Regions from separate parts of the Homo sapiens genome. Here all the other regions are linked to region 3. Evidence: promoter capture Hi-C in 16 types of primary human blood cells and fetal thymus (Javierre and others, 2016). All regions are on one chromosome and are shown on one strand. The core of a region is centred on a gene start or on the middle of the fragment in contact, and the rest is flanking DNA. Distances in the headings are between cores, read along the strand shown. Region 1 has its middle 11 kb from the start of MIR133A2. Region 2 holds the start of SLCO4A1-AS1 (SLCO4A1 antisense RNA 1). Region 3 holds the start of COL9A3 (collagen type IX alpha 3 chain).

Region 1 (2,999 bases), core at 262-2,761, 240 kb after region 3:
ACACAGCAGGTGGGGGCGGGGCCTGCATCAGGTGCCACCGGGTGCTCAGGGCCTGCAGGGCGGAGGCACCTTCTTTGGCGAGTTGCACGTCACCCCAGTCCCCAGGGACCGGGCACCAGCCCCAGCCCTGCTGCCCTCCAGCTGCCCTTGGGCGAGTTGCTGTCCCTTGCTCCCCGAAGGCAGGACAATGCCACCTCCCGGGAGGACGTGTGTGAGCAGCAGTGACGTAGCCACAGGGCAATCATTAGCATATTGTTGTTAATTATTAACATATCAATACAATTAATATGATGCGGCATTAATAATTCATGTGTCGGAGCTCTAGTCTGTGGAGGGCATATTAGAAGCTTGGCAGCTCCATTTTCAGACCAGGGAGTTCCCGAATAGACCAAGTCTCTATGTTAACACCCTCATTCCAAATTGCACCCGGGACCATTAGCAAGTCAACATTTTAATGAACTTGCCGAGGCGCATGACTTAATTGCCCTCATCTTCTAGCTCCAGGTTCTTCAGATGTAGCTGATTCTGTCCTCGTGTGGCCAGAGACTCAATTCCTATGGACTCAGAAGCACGGAGGCGAGAGCCTTCCTGACCCCCAGCCGGGGTCTAGGGTCTCCTGGAAGCTTGCCATGCTGGGGTGCACCCACAGGATCGTCCCTGTACTTTGATCCAGCCCAGGGCTCACTGAGGGTCTGGGAGTCAGCTGGGGCTGGGAGTGAGCTGCAGCTGCTGGGAGCTGTCCACAAGCGGGGTCCTGGAAGGACCTCACAGCCACTGCGCTCTCGCCACTCTGCTTAATAAAAATGGTGTGTGCACTCTGCCTGGTGTGGGCCATGCTTCCTGGGCAGGTTTCCCATGGGTGCAGAAGGTAAATGTTGTGCCCAGGATCCCACATAAACCTGTACCCAGGCCTGAGAAAGATCGGCTGCCTTCCCAGACTGAGCTGTCATTGGGGGTCCTGTCCAGTCTCTTCCCAAACCAAGAGCTCCTTGCACAGGGTGAGAAGGACTTTCCTCTAGGGAACGGCGAGGAAGGAGAGGCAGCTATGGTGTTCGAAGCATCAGGGAGGCTGACGGTGGCCCCAGGCAGGCGGGACCCAGGCACACTCAGGAGGCCTCGGCCACACATCCAGGAGCGGGAGATCAGCACTCTCCCAGCATCTCAAGGGCACGGCCTCCTCCGGCACCCCCTGCCTCAGACTCCCCGCCCCACAACTACCCAGGCCAGGCTGGGAGAAGGAGCAGAGGTGGGGACTAGGGGCCTGCAGCCAGCCTCTGCCCAGGCCGCTTGTGCGGGTGGCGAATGTTGATGTCTTTCAACTGCATGGCCCCACCTGACCCTCCCATGAGGAGGTGAGAGCAGGCTTGAGACATTGGTGGCTTCTCCAAGGCCCCACACCAGGACTTTGCTGAAGGGCTTCGGACCTGAGCCCCGCCACCTGTGGCCTCCAGCTAAGGGTGTGGTGAGGGCTCACAGCGCTGTCCTGGACTCAGTTTTATTTGGTGTGAGCCATGACAGGGCCATCCCACACTTAGACTGGGTTCCGTGAAGGGGAGTGATCTGATGTGGCGCCCTGGCCCGCCCCTCGCGGAGCTCACCTCCCTGCAGCTAATGGAGTGGGTGCAGGGGCGGCGGGCTGCAGCCCCCACAGCATGAGCTCATCCAACTGGGCTGATTCACAACAGAGAGTGCCTGCTCTCCCAGGCTGACAGCGGCGTCTAACAAATGAGAAAATAAGACACTTCCTAGGGGCCATTTCCTCCCACTCTTGGTTCCGGGAATGAAAAGAACTCTCCGAGGGGCTGCGGGGCTTTGCTGCTACTGCTTTGCTGTCTGTCCTCAAGTCAGCTTTGCTCTCCTGAAAGACCCTACACATCCACAACCGCCCCGGGCCCGGTCAGGAGGTCCCTGTGTGCACAAGCCAGTGTGCGTGCAAGAGAGACTGTGAGAGAAGACCCAACACCTGAAACTGCAATTTGGCTCGTTCTGAAGGAGCCTTTGGCCGTGGATGTGATGGATTTATGGGTGACAGGCGCACTTTGCAAAAAAGAAGCGATGAGCAGATGTGCATGCATTATCCACAGAGTGCCACGTGCAGCCTCACGTCCAAAAGATGCAGATGATTTACTCACTGCTGCGTCCACCTGCTGGTGTGAAAAATATGGAAACGCTCCACCCAGAAATTCCCGTGTGGGACTGGGTCTCCCCACCCTGCCCCACCAGGTTCTTTTCCGGTGGGGAGAGCTGAGGAATGGGGTTCCCATAGCAGGAAAAGCCTTGTGATTTGTCAGTGAAACATTTTTATGAAATCACATTCGCCATTTGCTTTTCTCTCAGGTTTTGAGTTGGAGCTCCCTTTGTCTCCCTCATTGCCCCTGGCCATCTCCCGAGAAGCTTATTGACGAAGCTTCACTTAGGTACGGAGGCCCTGGAGGGGCCCTCCTCATGCCCCTGCCCACCTTCCTTGGAAAGCACCCCAGGTAGTCAGGCACCTGCCCCGAGTCACAGGAGGCACCCCCCAGCCCCCCACCTGGGTTCAGTCTCCACTGAACGCAGCATTTCTCCCAGGGGTCTCTTTCACTGTGTCCACAATGCAATCCTGGAAAATGTACAAAATTGACTGTGTACATTGACACACAGATGGTCACCCAGCGTGTCTTCTCCTCCAATGAGGAAACGTGTATTACAGCTGCTATAAAGATACACCCTCTATAGGAAAGTGGCCCCAAACGTCCCAGTCTGCAGTCCACAGCGCCATACCTGCCTCACGTGCCTGTCCCCCGGGCAGCTTGGGCAGTGCCAGCCTTGCCTCTGCGCTGTTCACAGAGCCTGCTTTCTGTCGCTGGCGTTGGCACTCACGTCTTTCTGTTTTCACTCTTAGAAATAAAGTAAGGTCAGAGCACAGGAAAGCAGCTCACCACCCACCCACCACTGTATCGAGACGGCGGGGCTGCGGGAGTCGGCCCACCAGGTGGGAGGGCAGTGCACGGTGGGTGACA
Region 2 (2,750 bases), core at 30-2,529, 150 kb after region 3:
CCACATTCGTCTCCGTGGCTGCAGGGCACCCTGCGTGGCACAGTGAGAAGTACATGAGGCCGTCCGAGCCGCACACAGGGCTGTAGTGTTCTGGCTGGCAGCTGCAGGCAGCGTTGCAGGGAGCCGTTAGGTTCAGGTGGCCTTCGGGCAGGAGGCTGCAGAGGGGGGACAAGCGAGTGGTAGGGTCCAGGCCAGAGCCATGCTGGCGCCCAGCAGGCACAGGGTCAGCCATGGGGCTCGTCCCCATGCAGCCTGCATTTCGGGTCTACAAACTTGCCAAGCTTGCACCGCCCCCAGCACGCTGGGCACTCACACTGGGCACTGCCTTCTGGTGATAGAATGGTTTTTCCTCCTCACGCAAGGAAGGCACACCCATGCCCCCCAGCACCGTCCGCCTGATGCACAGCCCCTTTCCCTAGTTCATTTGTTTTTGGACAGGCAACACATTCATATGGATCAAATACAAACATTAGGAAAGAAAAAGCGCCAAGTACACAAAGGCAGCCTCGTGGCCCCAGCCCCACCCCAGTCCTCGGTTCTCCAGCCACAGGCCGGCTGTGCATTTGCAGGGGTCGTCTGCACGTACACGCCCCTCGGCAGTCACAAACATCTGCACTTCTCACTTGAATCAGAGCACACTGCGCCCATTGTCCAACTCCTTCCTTTTTCCCACTTCACAGTATGTCTTGGCAGTGGCCCAGGATGAGCTTCCTCCACTCCTTTGTGGGCAGGGCCTCTGTTGTGAGGACAGCGTAGTGACCCCGTCCACCCTGATGACTCTTAGGTTCCGATAATGCCACAACGGCTGCTTTGTGCTTCTCGGCCTTGCACGGCACCTGCAGGTGCACTCCCGGGGCCCGCAGGGCAGGGCCGAGGTGCAGGCTACCTACGTGTATTTTGGATATTCCCTAATTGCCACCTGACCAGCAGGTGTCCCTCCCACTCCCAGCACATGGCAACTCCAGGAGCACATCCTGGGACACTTTTTATGTCACCGAGAGACCAGCCTCAAGGACCCCGAACACTAGGGCTGTTGTTCCATTTGACACAGCTACAGAGCAGAGTGCTGAGGCCCAGAGAGGCATATGACTGCCCGGGGGCACAGCCGGGACCCAAGCGCAGGCACTGCTGGGGGCTGGCATGGTGCCTTTTCACGTGGATGCTGCCGGGTGCCCTGCTGAGCGGGTGTTGCCCTTGCCGCTGTCCTGTGACGTAGCCCTTTTCAAAACCACCTCTCCCAAGTGCTGCACCACTCCTCCTCCATGCCCAGGGACCGCGGGTGCTTGGGGCCCCGACGCGTACCCAGGTGCCATCTGGCCCTCACCTCCCGCCGTAGCTGGCTGTGACGCCCGCCATGGGCACACTGGGGCAGTGCAGTGAGAAGACGAGGATGCCCAGCAGGCTGACAACGGTGCAGAACAGGCAGAACTTGATGACCGCGGAGCCCCGGAGCCTGAGCTTGTTCACAAAGAAGCCGCCCAGGAAGGTGCCGCCACCACCCGCTGGCACCACCAGGTACCCTGGGGAGAGGGAGGGATTCAGCCAGGGACTCAGGCAGGGGGCCGTGGTGGGAGAGGGTGGTGGATCAGCCGGGTCCACTTTACAGGTGGGGAAACTGAGGCATAGAGGGATCAATTCCTGCCTGCATGGCAGCACTCAACACCACACCTGAGTGCTTAGCTGTTGCGCTGATAGAGCCCTAGGAGGGACCTCTGTCCAGAGCCCACAGCGGGGATGCCTCAGAGGGGAAGGGGAAGGGGAAGGGGAAGGGGAAGGGGGAGCGGGGGGGCGGGGCGGGGCGGGGGGAGGAGGAGAGCCCAGAGTGCTCCAAGGTCAGCGGCCCCTGCCCCAGTGGGAAGCCAATGACTCCTCCACTGACCCCCCTCCAGGGCAGCCACACCCCCTCCTCCCCCAGGGGCCTCTGCCGAGTCCCTGCAGGCTGTGACAAGGACATTTGTCGAAGCCTGAGTGGCCACCAACAGTAAAAAATTGCGATTAGCTGGCATCTAGCTTCTGGGCTGACAAGTGAGGAGGGCACAGGTGAGGGGACAGGTGGAGAGGGGACAGGTTTGGGGGGACAGGTGGGGAGGGGACAGATTTGGGGGGACAGGTGGGGAGGCTCTCCAAGGGGCAGTAGAGCTGACCTCTGGGGGGCTGTTGAGTGTGGGAATGTGGGCTTGTGAGGTCAGCCCAGAGGGGCCAGGCCAGGATGGGCCTGTGGGGGAGGGAGGGGAGCCCTCATCTGATGCCCTCTTCCTGTCCAGATAGTGGACCCTGGAAGGGTAGAGCGCGGTAGATTGGCGGTGGTGGCCCACATGCCTGGCACCTCTGCCATGGCCCAGGGTACTCTGTGAACGCTGGCAGGAGGAGCAGCTCTGAGGAGGGGTCCCCACTTTCTGCAGACCTGCCCAGCCTGGGAAGGCCAGCCTGCCTCTGGCACCGAGAAACCCCCAGCTGCACTGTTCCAGGAGGTCCTGAGGCACCAGTGCCTGGCTCATGGAACAGCCAGGTCCAAACCCTTCCTGCACCAAGTCACAGAAGCCAAGACTAGGTGGCTAGGGGGTGGAGCCCACCGTGGACCCTTCCACCTACGGAGCATGTCCCACAAAGAGGGCAGGACCACCACTCTCCCGGCCTGTGGACAGAGTCGCTCAGCCCCCGTGGCGCTCTCCACACCTGCTCTGGCAGCGGGGGTGGGAGGGCACTCACTGCCATGTGCCCTGTCTGGGTCTTTCTAGAAGATGCCCTTG
Region 3 (3,034 bases), core at 2-2,501:
GCTGTGGCCATTGAGGCCGAGCTGGGCAGGGGGGCAGAGGGTGGGTCATGGGGGGCTCTTGGTGCAGCCCTCCACAGCCCTCCACGGGGACCACACAGCGTGGACAGGCCCTGAGGGGACTCCTGCCCTGGTGGTGGTCACATGGGGAGGTTCACCCCAGACGGTCCCTCCGAGGGAGGCACAATTGTAGAATTTCAGCCGCCTCCTCCTGCTGCTTGGCCCACACCAGTCCTGAGATACCCATAGGGGACATCATCTCAGGACTGAGTCGGCTCCTAAGCCCCCTCCATGGCTGGCTCCAGAGCCCAGCAGCCTCCAACAAGACCCCCGGCCCCCAACCACCCAAAGGACGTGCCTCTCCCCACTTCAGCCAGAGGCCAGAACCCCGAACACAGGGGCACGGGCCCCTCAGGGGACCCAGAGACACACACCTCAGTGCCGGCATTCTGGGTGGAGGACCACCACATGACACCCTCCACCCCTACCCACCAGCAGTCCCCGCAGGGCCACCCCCATCCCGTGAAGGCACTGGCTGTCCCCTGATGTCACCCCGGCTCTGGGAGGTGGGGCCTGGTTTTCTCTCCATCAGGCCGGGGAGCTCAGGGAGGTGGGGGCCAGAGCCAGAACCCCAGAGCGCTCGGGGCCCTCCCCACCCCCAAACTCACGTCAATGCCGTCCTGGCCGGGCTTCCCGGGCGGCCCTGGGGGGCCGGGGGGGCCGGGGAGTCCCACTCTCTGAAACGGAGAAAACTCATTAAGGAGCGCAGGTGCCCCCGTGGGCCTGACCCGGCGTCCCCTCCTCCCGGGTCCCGAGCGGCTCCGGGGCCTGCGACGACCGCCGCTCTCCTCGGTGAGACCCAAAGCCTCGGGCGGAGCCCGGCGCCCCCGCGCAGTGTGTCCCCCGCCTCCCTCCGGCGGCGGGAACAAAGGCCCCCTTGTGCTCCCAGAGGAGGCGGCGGCGCCGGCCGACCCGGGCCAGCGAGGACCCATCGAGGACGCGGCCGGACGGGGCTCATCCCGAGGCGCTGGCGACTCCGCGCCCCGACGGCGACACGGGCTGGGGGCGTCGAGGCTGCGCCGGGCACCCCGGAGTGGCGGGTTCGGGGCTGGGGCGGTCGCGGCTCCACGTCCAGCCTCAGAGCCCGGAGCTCGCGCTCACCTGCGCCCCGGCGGCCGCCAGAAGCTCCCCGAGCAGGAGCAGGAGCAGGAGCGGGGCGCACGCGCGCGGCCCGGCCATGGCTGAGCGGAGTCTGAGCTGCGGCGTCGGGGCGGGCGGCGCGCGGGCGGGCGGGGCGGGAGGTGGGCGGCCCCTTCCCCTTCCCCTTCCCGCCCCCGCCTGCACAAGCCCCCCATTCAGCCGGGCCCACCTGGGCGGGGGGGCTTCCACCCGCCCCGCGCCGCCGCCCAGCCCGCCTGGGCGAAAACAAAAAAGACGCCGGGCGGGCGGCGCGTTCTCTCCGGCCGCGAGTTAAAATTATCCTGGGACTGGCGCGTTGCACACACGCAGCTTTGAGCAAGAGAGAAAGACGCTCTTTTCTCTCCTTGCTCCTCAACCCGAGTGTGGGGGCGGAAGCGCGCGGCGCTGAAGGGCCGCCTTCAGGGAGGGGCAGGGGAGACCCGCGAGTTTCCGAAGCCGCAGACCCCTCCCCAGGCGCCGGAGCGGACCCAGGCGACCCAAGGCCCAGGAACACCCCGGGGAGGGTGAATCCCCGGTACCAGGGCCCGGTCAGTGCCCAGCGCAGCCCTGGTTCCCGCTCCGGGGTCACTGTCCAGCGCTGCCTGCTGGGCTGGGAGCACCCCCACCGCGGCCCCTCACCCGTGGACCTGGACGGGCCGGGTGGTCAGGCCACGTCAGTTGCTACCGGCTAAGACCAGACTCCAAACCCAGACTCCCAGGAGAGATCGCAAAACGATGACCCTGGCCGAGGGGAAGAACCCCTCCCCGGGATCCCCGGCCTGAAGGAACCGTGCCCTGGGCAGGAACCTGAAGGCGGTGCTGGCCATGTCCATTTCCCAGAAGCTCAGGGGTCGCCAGGTCCGGCCAAGCTCTGCCTCAGGCTGCCAGGGCAGTCGCTGCCCTAGGGGACTCAAAGCTTCCAGTTGCCTGTAGGCTCAGTGAAGGCGCAGATGCCAGCCCCTCCCCCAGGAATCTTGAAAATTCCCGAGAAAGGCTGCCCTGGGGGTTGTAGGGGGCTGCAGGAGCTTCCTTTCGGCAGGTGGGGACTCATGACTGTTGCAATGCTGTGAGTTAGCAAGGGCGGGAGGGGATGAGAGGGGAGTGGGCGCAAAACTGCTCAGCAGGAGCACCGCACTCTGGCCGGGCGCAGTCAGCCTGGCGACAGAGGGAGGCCTCATCTCTACCAAAAATTGAAACATCGGCCGGGCGTGGCCAGCTTGGAGACAGAGGGAGGCCTCATGTCTACCAAAAATTAAAACATCGGCTGGGCATGGTGGTGCTCGCCTGTAGTCCACGCTACACGGGAGGCTGAGGCAAGAGGATCGCTTGAGCCTGTAAGGTCGGGGCTGCAGTGAGCCAAGACGGCGCCACTGCACTCCTGCCTGGGCAAGAGAGTGAGACCCTGTCTCAAAATAATAGTGTCGCTCTAATCTCTCCCGCGGTGAAGTGAGTGGAGGGAGATTCTCCCTTCACTGCTGGGTGAGCGCGGTGGCTGGGCTGGGAGGGGTGTGTGCGAATTCCATCAGGCGAGGTGGGAGGAGCTGAAAAGGCCCACCCTCCTGAGGAGTCCAAGTCATCCTGGCACAGAGCTTCCTAACAGAGGACTTTTGATTACGGGGAGAGGTGGGTGGAGCAGGTCAGCCCAGACAGCAGGGGGCCTTAGGGGCTCCCAGCACCAGCCCCACCCCAAGCCCAGGGTCTGGGGGACAGGATAAGTCCTCCCTACCAGTTCCACCTGGCAAGATGACCCTGTGGCCAGCCCCCTCCTCAGTGGCTCTCCCCTGGTCCCTGGCCCCACACCCCACTTTGCCTATCCCCATGATGCCCAGCATGCAGTCAGCAAGGACTGCTATCTGAC

What was found. Contacts are between HindIII fragments. The CHiCAGO score rates a contact against its expected background, and 5 or more counts as called.
Region 1: a contact is called between a fragment that was not itself captured here and the fragment with the promoter of COL9A3 in region 3, in 1 of 17 cell types (neutrophils). The highest score is 5.4, in neutrophils.
Region 2: a contact is called between the fragment with the promoter of SLCO4A1-AS1 here and the fragment with the promoter of COL9A3 in region 3, in 5 of 17 cell types (monocytes, neutrophils, total CD8 T cells and 2 more). The highest score is 11.7, in monocytes.

Annotation. Positions count from the first base shown.
Region 1 is chr20:62,574,753-62,577,751 of GRCh38, reverse strand. No RefSeq gene overlaps it. Among named protein-coding and RNA genes, the nearest start is that of MIR133A2, 11 kb to the right of the region's middle. RefSeq lists enhancers at 1,047-1,546, 1,547-2,048. The HindIII fragment of the contact is 1,771 bases long and covers 626-2,396 here.
Region 2 is chr20:62,665,150-62,667,899 of GRCh38, reverse strand. It overlaps SLCO4A1-AS1 (SLCO4A1 antisense RNA 1), which reads left to right and starts at 1,279. Exons shown (of 4, transcript NR_024470.1): 1 at 1,279-1,515; 2 at 1,890-2,040; 3 at 2,403-2,750. It overlaps SLCO4A1 (solute carrier organic anion transporter family member 4A1), which reads right to left. Exons shown (of 12, transcript NM_016354.4): 7 at 1,325-1,520; 8 at 1-155. The HindIII fragment of the contact is 12,915 bases long and covers 284-2,750 here.
Region 3 is chr20:62,815,267-62,818,300 of GRCh38, reverse strand. It overlaps COL9A3 (collagen type IX alpha 3 chain), which reads right to left and starts at 1,251. Exons shown (of 32, transcript NM_001853.4): 1 at 1,159-1,251; 2 at 666-734. The coding sequence starts at 1,236. RefSeq lists enhancers at 1-322, 1,011-1,696, 2,385-3,034. The HindIII fragment of the contact is 2,563 bases long and covers 1-2,094 here.